Regions from separate parts of the Homo sapiens genome. Here region 2 is linked to region 1. Evidence: promoter capture Hi-C in 16 types of primary human blood cells and fetal thymus (Javierre and others, 2016). All regions are on one chromosome and are shown on one strand. Each heading gives the region's core, a stretch centred on a gene start or on the middle of the fragment in contact. The rest is flanking DNA. Distances are from core to core; before and after follow the strand shown.

Region 1 (7,131 bases), core at 2,574-5,073:
ACTCCTTGCCAATAGAGTAAGACCCCGTCTCAACAACAACAACTACCACAACAACAAAAACAAAAGCATATGATGCTTACAGGGTGCTTAGCACTGTGCCAGGCACAGAGCAAGAAGAAAGTCAATGGTTATTATAAAAATTAAAACAGAAGTGATAATCCAATGGGGAAGAGGGATTATTTCCAGATCTGGGAAAAATTAAGCTGGATCCATACCCAATACCTTGCACTAAAAAAAATCTAAATGGAGGAAATATTTAAATGTAAAAAGGTAAACCCACAAAAATTTAGAAAAAAATGGGGAAGTTATTTTATGACTTCACAGTGAGGAAGTTCTTTCCAAGTATCATATAAGATGTGGGGCCAGGCACAGTGGCTCATGCCTGTAATCCCAGCAGTTTGGGAGGCTGAGGCAGGAGGATCACTTGAGCCCAGGAGTTCAAGATCAGCCTGGGTAACATTGTGAGATTCCATCTCTACAAAATAAATGTTTTAAATTAGTCGAGTATGGTAGCGCATGCCTGTGGTCCCTGCTACTCGGGAGGCTGAGACAGGCATTGTGAGATTCCATCTCTACAAAAAAAAATGTTTTAAATTAGTTGAGTATGGTAGCGCATGCCTGTGGTCCCTGCTACTCAGGAAGCTAAGGAGGAGTGCTTAAGCCTGGAACATTGAGGCTGCAGTGAGCCGTGATCGCACCACTGCACTCCAGCATGAGTGACAGAGAACCTGTCTCAAAAAAGAAAAAAAAAAGGATTTGTAAAAACACATCAAACATAAAAATTAAAATTTTTTCTATGTAACAAAAGAATACCGCCATAATCAAAGTCAAAGGCCAATACACAGAAAAACATTTGTAGTTCATTACAGTTAAAGGGCTAATTTCTTTTTTAATTTTTTGAGACAGTGTCTTGTTCTGTTGCCCAGGCTGGAGTTCAGTGGCTTGACCTCGGCTCACTGCAACCTCTGCCTCCCAGGCACAAGCAATCCTCCCACTTCAGCCCCCGCCAAGGTGCGCACCACCATGCCCAGCTAATTTTTGTGTTTTTAGTAGAGACGGGGTTTTGCCATGTTGCCCAGGCTGGTCTCAACTCCTGAGCTGAAGTAGTCCACCCGCCTTGGCCTCCCAAAGTGAGGGAGTTACAGGGGTGAGCCACTGCACCCAGCCAGGGCTAATTTCCTCAATAGAAAAGAGCATCTACAAATAGATTGTTTTAAATAACCAACTATACATATGGGCAAAATACAAGAACAGTAGTTCACAGAAAAAGAAATACATCACGAGGTCAGGAGATCAAGACCATCCTGGCTAACATGGTGAAACCCCGTCTCTACTAAAAATACAAAAAATTAGCCAGGTGTGGCGGCATGTGCCTGCAGTACCAGCTACTCGGGAGGCTGAGGCAGGAGAATGGCGTGAACCCGGGAGGCGGAGCTTGCAGTGAGCCGAGATTGCACCACTGCACTCCAGCCTAAGGACAGAGCAAGACTCCGCCTCAAAAAAAAAAAATAAAAAAATAAAAAAAATTAGCCGGGCATGGTGCTGGGGCTTGTAATTCCAGCCACTCCAGAGGCTAAGGCAGGAGAATCACTTGAGACCGGAAGGAGGAGGTTGTAGTGAGCAGAGATAGCGCCACTGCACTCCAGCCTGGGAGACAGAGTGAGACTCCGTCTCAAAACAAAACAAAACAGAACAAAAGAAAACAACTAACTTGAAAATGAGGCAACTGTAACATGAAGTAGTAAACTGTAATTCAGACCTCAGGTGTGTGAAGAGCTCAGAGAAAGGTGACTGGGAGTGATGGGCACAGCTCCCAGATCCAGTGGTATTGAATTTAGATGGGGCTGCGAGTCCAAGGGTTAATGCACTGCTGAAATGGGGTGAGGAAATGCAGGATTGGGGTGGGTGCCACGGAGTAGGAACCCGGCAAGACTGTGTTACAACTATCTTTGTATGGGTTGATAAGGCTTGGACTAACTTTGCTCCTGTTTTCTTCGTGGGGACATGGGGAAACATGAACCTGGCAACCAAAAATGGCAAAAGCACGTGTAGGTGGATGTTTAATGCTAGAAGGCAAAGTTCCCTCTATAGTTACTTTTTTTTGTTGATTTGTTTGTTTGAGACGGAGTCTCACTCTGTTGCCCAGGCTAGAGTGCAGTGGCGCAATCTCGGCTTAATGCAACCTCAACCTCCCGGGTTCAAGTGATTCTCCTGCTTTAGCCTCCTGAGTAGCTGGGATTACAAGCGCGCGCCACCACGCCCTCCTAATTTTTTGTCTTTTTTTTTTTTTTTTTTTTTGAGACGGAGTTTCGCTCTGTCGCCCAGGCTGGAGTGCAGTGGCGCGATCTCGACTCACTGCAAGCTCCGCCTCCCGGGTTCACGCCATTCTCCTGCCTCAGCCTCCTGTGTAGCTGGGACTACAGGCACGCGCCACCATGCCCGGCTAATTTTTGTATTTTTAGTAGAGACGGGGTTTCACCGTGTTAGCCAGGATGGTCTCGATCTCCTGACCTCGTGATCCGCCCGTCTCGGCCTCCCAAAGTGCTGGGATTACAGGCGTGAGCCACCGCGCCCGGCCAATTTTTTGTCTTTTAAGTAAAGATGTGGTTTCACCATGTTGGCCAGGCTGGCCTTGAACTCCTGACTTCAGGTGATCCACCCGCCTCGGTCTTCCAAAGTGCTGAAATTACAGGCGTGAGCCACCGCGCCCAACCTTACAATTACTTTCTCATGAGATTTAAGTGCCTGGCCCTTAAGCACTACTTAAGAGCATTGCATGCACGCAGGCTCAGAGCGAAGTGTGTAGCTCAAGTTCACAGACGTGAGCAGTGGAGGCGGTAGTGGGGTGTGAGCCTTGACCAGCTCCTAACAGCTCCTCGCTCAACAGCACCGCCCGGAGCGTCCACTTCCCCCTACCCCGTAAAAAAAAAAAACAGGGCCATTGGTTCGGGTCGAGAGCCGCTTTGGGAAGCGTCTCTGTCACTAAGCGCTACCCCGGGGTGTGCGAGGGAGTCAAGGGACGCGGAGACCGGGAGCAGGGCTGGGTCCCCTTGCAGCCCCAGCGCTGGCCTCCTGCCCACCGCATTCAGGCGCTGCGCCGCCCTCACACCCACCCTCTCCCACCTCAGCAGCGTGCGGGGGAAGCCTCGCGCCGGGGTCTTTTTCAGCAAGACTGTCGCGGTCCTCGGCTTCAACTGCAAGGTAAACGGTGGCAGAGCCCCTTCCCACTCCAGCCGTGTGTGATTCTCACACTCAGTGCCCTCTCCTGCACTGGGGCGCCGGCAGTGGCGACCTAGGCTCTCCAGCCCCCGCCCAGTCCCCCGCGTGCGGGCGCCGGGACCGCAGTACCTGTGACGCCGAAGCCCAGCAGGCCGCAGACGGGAGCCACGCGCGGCCCTGGCACAGGGTAAAAACCTACGCTCAGGTAGGCGGGCAGCCACGATGTCGGGCAAGCCCAGGGCAGACCCCCGGTGGCGCACAGGGAAGCAGCGGTCCAGAAGGCCGGGTGGACGCAGGCGGAGCCCGACGGCTGGGAGGCCGCCGGCGCGCAGGGGTCGGGCCTCGCCAGGATGGCCTCGACCGAGAAAGGGGACTCGAAGCGTCCGGGAGCGCGGGGCGTGTTCGGGCCAGTAGGGGACCTGGGCGCCGGAGAGCGGCCAGAGCGCGGAGGTCGGACCCGAGAGCCCGAGGGAGCGGGTGGCGGGCTGCCTCGCGGCCTGGGGCTAGGCATGACGCGGCCGTTGCCCGGACGGACGCAAGGAAGGGAGCTCGGGAGAAGTGAGAAGATTCTGCAAAAGGCAGCGAGCAAGACCGGTTGTCTGGGAACCTCCTGGCGCTCGGCGAAGGCTCTTAAATTTGGCGGGGCGGGGCATGGGGCGGCCTCTCCCCACTGCGGTCCGGGCGGGGCCCCCAAAGCCTGTGAGCGCCCGCTCTGTGCGAGGCAAGGTGGGCACAGCACCAAAGAGTGTGTTCCCTCCCTTCCTCCGCTTTTAAAAATGCCCACCCTGGGGCGGTCGTGGGGAGGACTCTGAGCTCGCTGGTGATCCTGGGCGAAACACCCAGCCACCGGGCTCCGTCTTTCTCCTTTGCTCACTGAAGAAGGGATGCCCGTTTCCCCGGGGCCTTGCAGAGGCGGAGCTGTGATCTGGAGAGCGGTAGGGCAGTGCCTGCGGTCTTGGCCTCAGCTGACCCGCGCCGTCCTTGACGCAGAAGCCTCGGCCAGATTCACCTAGGACCGCGCGGACTTTTTGTTTGTTTGTTTTAAAATGTAAATATTTTATTTATAAGCACAGTGATAAGTACATTTTCCATCTGGCCTCAGCCCTTTAGTTTCCCTGCCTTGAGATGCGCTGTGATTACCAATTTCGTTCTTTCTTTAATATTTTTTTTGGCCAGGTGCAGTGGCTCATGCCTGGCATCCCAGTACTTGTGTGGGAGGCCGAGGCGGGAGGATCGCTTGAGCTCAGGATTTGATTTGATTTGATTTGAGTTGATTTAGGGGTAAAAGATATGGCCACTATGTCTCTAACCTTGGACTTTTAGTATATAATTCTGTGTTTCCATACATAATTATCAGTTTTCTGTTGTGTCATTTATTCCTTCTTCAGACTGTAAATTCCTGAGCATAAGCATTAATATCTCCAATTTACATATTAGTAAATACAGCAAGAGAGGTTAACAGAACTGCCTTGTTTCAAATCCCCTAGGTATGTGGTTTTAATTTGCATTTATTTCCCTGAAGACCGTTCATTGTGAGCATCTTTTTACATGCTTATCAGCCACTTGGATATCCTCTTTTGTGTGAAGTGCCTGTTCAACTGGTTTGCTTATTTTTGTATTGGGTCACTATGTTTTTCTTATTGTAAGAGTTTTATGTATAGATAATTTGGAATCAAGTCCTTCGTTGTAATATACATAGAAGCAGATAACCTCTGTCACTCTGTGGCCTGCCTTTTCATTCTTTTAGTAGTCCTTTTTTTTTTTTTTTCTGAGATGGAGTTGCCCAGGCTAGAGTGCAGTGGCACAATCTTGGCTCACTGCAACCTTTGCCTCCCAGGTTCCAGCGATTTTCCTGCTTCAGTAGCTGGGATTACAGGCATGTGCCACCACACCCAGCTAATTTTTGTTAAGTATACCAAAAATAAAGCCAAACGAATAACAGACTTTATTTTTATTCATTTATTTATTTATTTAGAGATGGAGTTTCACTCTTGTTGCCCAGGCTGGAGTGCAATGGCACTCGGCTCACTGCAACCTCTGCCTCCTGGGTTCAAGCGATTCTCCTGCCCCAGCCTCCTGAGTAGCTGGGATTACAGGCACCCGCCACCATGCCCAGCTAATTTTTTGTATTTTTAGTAGAGATGGGGTTTCACCATGTTGTCCAGGCTGGTCTTGAACTCCTGACCTCAGGTGATCCACCCGCCTTGGCCTCCCAAAGTGCTGGGATTACAGGCGTAAGCCACCGCACCCAGCCCTACAACAGACTTTAAAAAGACCACTGAGATGGGTTAGTACATGAACTAGGCACTTTATAAAAGGAAATATCTGAATAGCTTAAAACCATATGTGGCTGGGCGCGGTGGCCCATGCCTGTAATCCCAGCACTTTGGGAGGCCAAGGCGGGCAGATCACTTGAGGTCAGGAGTTTGAGACCAGCCTGGCTAACATGGTGAAACCCCATCTCTACTAAAAATACAAAAACTAGCTGGGTGTTGTGGTGGGTGCCTGTAATCTCAGCTACTCGGAGGCTGAGGCAGGAGAATTGCTTGAACCTGGGAGGCGGAGGTTGCAGTGAGCCAAGACTGCACCACTGCACTCCAGCCTGGGCGAAAGAGCGAGACTCTGTCTCAAAAAAAAAAAAAGTATGAAACATACTGAACTCTGTGAGTCATCAGGGAAATGCAAATTCAAATCACATCGTGATCCACTATACACGCACCAGAAGATGGAAAATACCAAGGGCTGGCTGGGCACGGTGGCTCACACCTGTAAATCCCAGCACTTTAGGAGGCCAAGGCAGGTGTGAGGCTGAGGCGGGTGGATCACTTGAGGTCAGGAGTTCGAGACCAGCCTGACCAACATCGTGAAACCCCATCTCTACTAAAAATACAAAATTAGCCAGGTGTGGTGGTGCACACCTATAATCCCAGCTACCTGGGAGGCTGAGTCAGGAGAATCGCTTGAGCCTGGGAGGCGGAGGTTGTAGTGAGCCATTGCACTCCAGCCTGGGCAACAAGAGCAAAACTCTGTCTCAAAAAAAAAAAAAAAAAGAAAAAGAAAAAGAAAAAGAAAAAGAAAATACCGAGGGTTGATGATAATATGAAGCATCTGGAACTCTTATCCACTGAGTGTGGGCATATAAATTGGTAGAAACACTTTCGAAAAATGGATAAGCAGTATTTACTTAAGCTTAACCCTCTGATCCAGCAGTTCCTATCCTAGGTATAGTGTATACCCAACACAAATATACATATGTGTTTAACAAGAGACATGTTTCAGAATGTTCACAGCAGCATTATTTGCAATAGCCCCAAATCAGAAACTACCAGAATGTCTACCAACAGTAGAATAAAGTTGCGCCACTGCACTCCAGCCTGGGTGACAGAGTGAGACTCTTGTCTCAAAAAAATAAAAAAATAAAAAAACAAGGCAAACTTATCTATGCTACTAGAAGTCAGGAGAATGCTTGGGGGTGGTTAATGAGTGGCAAAGGGCATGACGGGAACTTCTGTGGTGGTAGCAGTGTTCTATTTATTTTCTTTTTTTTTGAGATTGAATTTCACTATTGTTGCCCAGACTGGAGTGCAGTAGCATGATCTTGGCTCATTGCAACCTCTGCCTCCCAGTTCAAACGATTCTCCTGCCTCAGCCTCCCAAGTAGCTGGGATTACAGGCATGTGCCACCATGCCGAGCAAATTTTGTATTTTTAATAGAGACAGGGTTTCACCATGTTGGTCAGGCTGGCTGGTCTCAAACTCCTGACCTTGGGTGATCCACCCGCCTCAGCCTCCCAAAGTGCTGGGATTACAGATGTGAGCCACCGTGCCCGGCCAGTGTTCTATTTCTTCATCTGGATGCTGGTTACACAGATCTTTATACTTTGTGAAAATTCAGTGCCCACTTGTTCCTGG
Region 2 (6,924 bases), core at 2,462-4,961, 430 kb after region 1:
TATGCAGAATTTTCTGTTGCTACCAGTTCATATTTTCACTGAGGTAGCCTGTTGCCCTTCCAAAGATTGCCAGTATTTACAAACATTTCTTGTAAGACTGGGTGATAATATTAATGAATGTGTTTTTTGATACTATGTAATGAAATATATCAATATTTGGAAAACCTATACAACCCAGTGAATCAGTATTTTTTAAATGACCAGTGCCTGATGTTACAAAATCACGTGAAATATTCATTTGAAGTATAACATAGACTAATGGGTTTTAATGTAACAAGGTACAAAAAATTTACTGATGTGGTTTCAGATTTCACATTGTAACTTTAAGAAAGTATCATTTGTCACATTCTAAAATTATACCAAAGAATATTTATATAAAATTATCTGAAAAGTCTTTGAAAATACTTTTTAGTTTTCCAGTTACATGTATTGTGAGGCTGAGTTTTCTTCATATACTTTAACCAAAACTGCGCATTGCCATAGGTTGAATGCAGAGGCTACAGAATCCAGATGTCTTCTGTTAAGACGACATTAAAGAGACTTTCACAAATGTAAAACAAACTATTTTAACTATTTGTTTTTTATTTGTATAAAATATACTGTTTAACTTGTAGTGGGTTCATTGTTAATTTTAAATGAATTAATTATTTTCAAGGTTCTCAGTTTTAGTTTTTTTTTCCGACTTTCTTGAGGTATAATTTTAAAAAGTATATACCTAAGGTATAGAATGAGATGTTTTGATATATATACACATTGTGAAATGATTATTAAAATTGTGCTAATTAACATATTCATCAACTCACATAGTTGCCTTTTTTTTTTTTTTTGGTGAGAAAACTTAAGATCTACCCGGTATGGTGGCTCATACCTGTAATCCCAACACCTTGGGAGGCTGAGGCAGGTGGATTGCTTGAGCCCAGGAGTTCCTGACCAACCTGAGCAACATGGTGAAATCCCATCTTTACAACAAATGTGAAAAAAATTAGCTGGGCATGGTGGCTTATGCTTGTGGTCCCAGCTACTTGAGAGGCTGACATGGGAGGATCACCTGAGCCTGGGAGGTTGAGGCTGCAGTGAGTCATGATTGCACCACTGCACTCCAGCCTGGGCAACAGAGTGAGACCCTGTCTCACAAAAAAAAAAAAAAAAAAAAAAGAAAATCTAAGGTCTACTGTCTTAGCAAATTTAAATTATACAATATAATAATGTTATTAACTATAGTTACCATGTTGTACATGTTCTTTTATAGTTCTCTGTGGTTCTTTTGTAGCTCTCTACATTTCTTTTGGATGATTATTTTGAAATCTTTTTCAGACAGTTCGTAGATCTTCATTTCTTTAGGGCTGGCTACTGGAGCTTTATTTTGTTCCTTGGGTGGGGGGATTATGGTTTTCCTGTTTATTTGTGATCCTTCTGGCTTTGGTTTGGTAGTTGTGCATTTGAAGATGTAGGTACCTCTTCCAGTCTTTACAGGCTGGCTTTGGCAGGGAAAGCCCATCACCCAGTCAGCCTACTCAGAATCTCTGAACAGGCTGATTGGTCGAGTGCATAGGTTGGCTTTCTTCTGAAGTCCTTGGGTAGGCTGGCCTGGTCCCTGGGTCAGCAGGTAGGCATTCCTAGCACCTGGGTTTATAGGATCAGTCCTGTTGCCTGGGTGTGTGGGCCTGGATTCTGGGGTCATGGGGATCAGCCTGGTAAAAGGATCTACTGGGTTGGGCTGGCAATGGGGTCTGCAGGAGCAGGCCTGAAGCTTGGATCCACAATGACTAACTGGCAATGGGGCAGTCTTGGCGTCTCTTTCCATGGAGGTGAGCCTGGTGCCTGGTACCATGTGGCTGGGCCTAGAACCTGTTTCTGTGGGGACTTGCCTGGCACCAGGTTCTATTGGGCAGGCCTGAAGCCTGGGGCTTTGGGGGCCATCCTGGCACTGGAGCTTGCCTTAAGCCTGGTCCTGCAGGGGCAGGCCTGGAGCCTTAGGTCACTGGCTGTCCTTGTGTTGGATTTGGCCTGGAGCTTAGGTACATGGCGGCTGGCCTGGCACCAAAATTCACTGGGGAGGCCTGGGGCTGGGGTCCCCAGTGAAGTAGGGTGCTCATATCATTCTCGTTTTCCTCCAGCGAGGGTCTCTCTTGTGAGCTTGGGGGAAGGGAATCATGGATAATGTGAAGCCGTCTTTCATACCCCCTTTAATGTATATTTTCTTATTTCTGCATTCTACCTAGGTGCTGTGATCTCTTACCTGGATTCCTTAGTTCTTTTGAATATATTTTTGTACTTGGATGTTTGTTCAAACTGATGTTTCTGTGAAGGGATGTGTGTTGGAAACTCCTATTCTGCCATCTTGCTGACATCGCTCCTCAGTTTTAATATCTAAAATAGCACATACTAATATATATATAATTCATATAAGCAAAAGCTCTTTAGGGTACTCAGTAATTTTTATTTTTCCTCTTTTCTTTCTTTTTTAGAGATATGGTCTCACCATGTTGCCCAGGCTGGGCTTGAATTCCTGGCCTGAAGCGATCCTTCCACCTTGGCCTCACAAAATGTTGAGATTACAGATGTGAGCTACCACATCCAGGCTCTCAGTAATTTTTAATAATGTAAAGTAGTCTTTTGTCCATAAATTTGGCTGCTTGTTTAGATAAAAAGAAACTGAAGAGACATGACCACAAAATGTAATTCATGATCTTAGACTGGATACTTTCCAGTAGGAAATGAAAATGCTCTAAAGAGCATTATTGGGATAATCTTCAAAATTGGAATTTGGACTGTGGGTTAGATATAATTGTATCAATGTAAATTTCTTGAATTTCATAATGGTACTATCATTATGTAAGAGAGAGGAGGTACAGACTATAGTTTTACAGGCATGATATATGAAGCCTACTTACAAATGGTTTAGAAAAATAAGCATGCATATATATGTAGGGAGAGAATGATAAAACAAATATGGCAAAAATTAGTGAACTCTGCATAAAGGCTATACAAGAGTTCTGTGCAATGTGAAATTATTTCAAAATAAAAATTACAACAATTATAAAGAATATAATGAATATCTTAGAAGCAATTTTTACAAATTAATTGGCGAGTGTTTTATTGTGCTTGTGATGAGTATGAAATGTTTTCAGCAGTTGAAGACACTTCTGGTTATGTAATAACTTTGTAGTTGTCACCACTTTTCAGAGGATACTCTTTATGCTCTGCTGCCCCCTAGTGACTTTATGCTCATCAGCAATTGTTTCTTCCAAGTGTAGTAAGTTGGAAATGAAGAGCACTATAATCATTATTTAAAAACAACTTAGTGTCAAGTCAAATAATTTTTCTGGGGGCGAGGGGGAAGACACTACCATGAAGCCATATCTAATGGCTTCCTTTTTTTCTTTGAATTTTTAAAAAATTGTATTTTTGTTCTTGTGGTTCCTTTGTATTGCATCCTCAGTTCTCTCTGTCTCTCTCTGAAGGTAATATTTACTGATTTCTCACCCAAGGGCAACAATGAAACTTAACTTGTGTACTCTTCTGTTATTCTTTCCTCTTAGCATTAAATATCAGGGAATAGTATTATCTTAGTGCTTTACTTTGTAGTCAAGCATACTTGATTTGGCCCATAATCTCTCATTTGTAATCCCCAAATCCTAAAGGCTCTAAAAACTATTTGTTGTCAAAATCTGCCTTAATTCATTTGGCAAGAAAACCTGATGTGAATTGACTTAATATATTAATAATCTTTATATTTACCACTTTTGTGAATATTCCTATATTTTACTGCTGAAATATGAATGTGTTTGATTATGGAATGCTTAAGATCTTACTGGGATGTTACATAATATGTGACAGATGAGCTGTATTTTTTTTAAATGTACAGAATTTGGTATTATGAAACATTTTGCTACAAGGATTTTCGATTAGGGATTGTAGACCTGTAGTTGATTTGCCTAGCTTTGGCTCACAGTTACTGGTATAAGATAGTTGACTAGTTTATTCTACTTTCTATCTTCTCTCTTTTTTTTCTTAGTTGTATAATTTTTATGTACTATTTTTATGTATCATACTTGATCACTTTTAATCTGACCTTGTTTTTGTCTTAGAGTTGCAGTTAAATATATTCAGTCTTCATTGACATTCTTTTTTATTGAAGTTTTCCCTGTCATCTAGTTGGGTTTGTGTTCCTCCTCTAGTAGTTGCCTTAAGAAGGACTTATGTGAACAACAATTTTTGAGTTATTGTATATTCAAATTTTAGCTCTATAGACTTTATATTTAAAGGCTAGCTTGGTTGAAATTAAAGTTCTTGGCTCATGTTTTGTTTCCTTGAGTATCTTGTCTTCTGGTGTTCAATGTTGCTGTGGAGAAGTCTGATACTTGCTGGTTTTTCTTTTTCCCTAAGTGCTTATTCTTGATTCTTATTATTTTTGGCTGTCTATTGACTCTTCTTCTTTCTATTTTATTTTATTTTATTTTTGAGATGGAGTCTTGCTCTGTCGCCCAGGCTGGAGTGCAGTGGCACGATCTCGGCTCACTGCAACCTCCACCTCCTGAGTTCAAGCAATTCTCCTGTCTCAGCCTCTCGAGTAGCTGGGATTACAGGCACGTGTCACCACACCCGGCTAATTTTTGTATTTTTAGTAGAGACAGAGTTTTGCCATGTTGGCCAGGCTGGTCTCGAATTCCTGACCTCAGGTGATCTGCCCGCCTTGGCCTCCCAAAGTGCTGGGATTACAGGTGTGAGCCACTGGGCCTGGCCCTTCCTTTTTTAGTTATTAGACATTACTCAAAGAATTTCAGCATGTATCCTTGACTCAGAGTATAATATAAATTAATATTTTTATCACTTCCTTGACACTGCTAGGAATATGTAACACTTTTTCATTTATCCTTTCCTACATCTTACACTGTTGTCATGAATTTTAATTTTACATGTAATTTTGTTCCCACACAACATTATCCTTATTATTTCGTAGAGTCACCATTCATGTATGTTTACTCTTTTGTTTGATTCTTCATTTCCTCCTCCATCTCTGTGCTTCATTCTGAGGTCACTTTTCCTTTTGTATGCAGAACTCCCTTTAGCATTTCTTTTAGTGAAGGACTCATTTATTTTGTTTGTATGAATAATGTCTGTATTTCACCTTATTTTAAAATTGCAGTAAAATATACATAACATATACTTTACCATTTTAACCATTTTTAAGTGTACAGTTCAGTGGCATTAAGTATATTCACATTTTTCTGTAGCCAAAACTGCCACCTATCTCCAGAACTTGTCTAATCCCAAGTAGCTGGGACTATAGGCACATGCCACTGTGCCTGGCTAATTTTTTTTTGTAGAGACAGGGTTTAGCTTTGTTGCCCAGGCTGGTCTTGACCTCCTGGCTTCAAGCAATATTCTTGCCTCAGCCTCCTAAGGTGCTGGGATTACAGGTGTGAACTACCACGGCTGGCCAAGTATAGTTTTCTTTACATTCATCATGCTTTGGGTTTATAGGGCTTGAAACTATGGACTGATATCTTTCATAAGTTTTTAGATATACTTGGCTATGATGTCTTTAAGTATTGCTTCTGCACAATTATACAATGATAAAATTTCTTTCAGGAGAGTTACAGATTTAAAAATATTTTCATAATATCAGTTAGATGTTATTTACTTAAAAAAAAAAAAAAAAAGCTTAGGCCGGGCACAGTGTCTCACGCCTCTAATCCCAGCACTTTGGGAGGCCAAGGCGGGGGGATCACCTGAGGTCTGGAGTTTGAGACCAGCCTGACCAACATGGAGAAACAAAATACAAAATTAGCCGGGGAGAAAGAAAATACAAAATTAGCCGGGGGTGGTAGCGCATGCCTGTAATCCCAGCTACTCGGGAGGCTGCGGCAAGAGAATGGCTTGAACCCGGTAGGCGGAGGTTGCAGTGAGCCGAGATCGCACCATTGCACTCCAGCCTGGGCAACAAGAGCCAAACTCTGTCTCGAAAAAAAAAAAAAAAAAAAGCTTGCATTCTCCTAGGGGAATAGAATTGAGTTTCTTAGAGGCTGCATGATGTGAAAATATCATTGTTTCAGTGGTGAATGTTATTTATACTTGTATGTTCTTTTATGTAATTTTTTTCTTCTGTTTCAATTTCTTTCTTTCTTTCTTTCTTTTTTTTTTTTTTTTTAACGGAGTCTCACTCTGGCCCCCAGGCTGGAATCTGGAGTGCAGTGGCATGATCTCAACTCACTGTAACCTCTGCCTCCCGGGTTCATGTGATTCTCCTGCCTCAGCCTTCCGAGTAGCTGGGATTACAGGCCCATGACATTACTCTCCTCTAATTTTTATATTTTTAGTGGAGACGGGGTTTCGCCATTATTGTCCAGGCTGGTCTTGAACTCCTGACCTCAGGCGATCCGCCTGCCTCGGCCTCCCAAAGTTCTGGAATTATAAGCGTGAGCCACCGGACTTGGTCTTTTTTTTTTTTTTTTTTTTTTTTTAACAAGGTCTCTGTGTCTCCCAGGCTGGAGTGCAGTGGTCTAATCTCTGCTCACTGCAACCTCCACCTCCCAGGCTTAGGTGATACTCCCACCTCAGCCTCCTGAGTAGCTGGGACCACAGGTGCATGCCACCATGCCTAGCTAACTTTTTTGGTATTTTTTGTAGAGATGGGGTTTTGCCGTGTTTCCCAGGTTGGTCTCAAACTCCTTAGCCTCAAGCAATCCGCCGGCCTCGCCTCCCAAAGTGTTGGGATTGCAAGCGTGAGCCACTGTGCCTGGCCCAGTTCCAATTGTTAATGTGGCTAATGTCAACAAACATAACACATACACAAAAGTTCTTGGGAAACCCAAGGGAAATATATATTATAATATATATTTGAGACCGAGTTTTGCTCTTTTGCCCAGGTTGGAGTGAAATGGCGCGATCTTGGTTTACTGCAACCTCCGCCTCCCGGTT

Evidence for each region. Contacts are between HindIII fragments. The CHiCAGO score rates a contact against its expected background, and 5 or more counts as called.
Region 2: a contact is called between a fragment that was not itself captured here and the fragment with the promoter of NOTO in region 1, in 1 of 17 cell types (M2 macrophages). The highest score is 5.6, in M2 macrophages.

The regions. Positions count from the first base shown.
Region 1 is chr2:73,199,266-73,206,396 of GRCh38, reverse strand. NOTO (notochord homeobox) reads right to left here and starts at 3,823. Exons shown (of 3, transcript NM_001134462.2): 1 at 3,349-3,823. The coding sequence starts at 3,730. RefSeq lists an enhancer at 2,429-2,980. The HindIII fragment of the contact is 10,291 bases long and covers 1-6,410 here.
Region 2 is chr2:72,767,352-72,774,275 of GRCh38, reverse strand. All of the region lies in intron 1 of EXOC6B (exocyst complex component 6B), which reads left to right. Among named protein-coding and RNA genes, the nearest start is that of EXOC6B, 55 kb to the left of the region's middle. RefSeq lists enhancers at 1,391-1,890, 1,891-2,392. The HindIII fragment of the contact is 3,917 bases long and covers 1,753-5,669 here.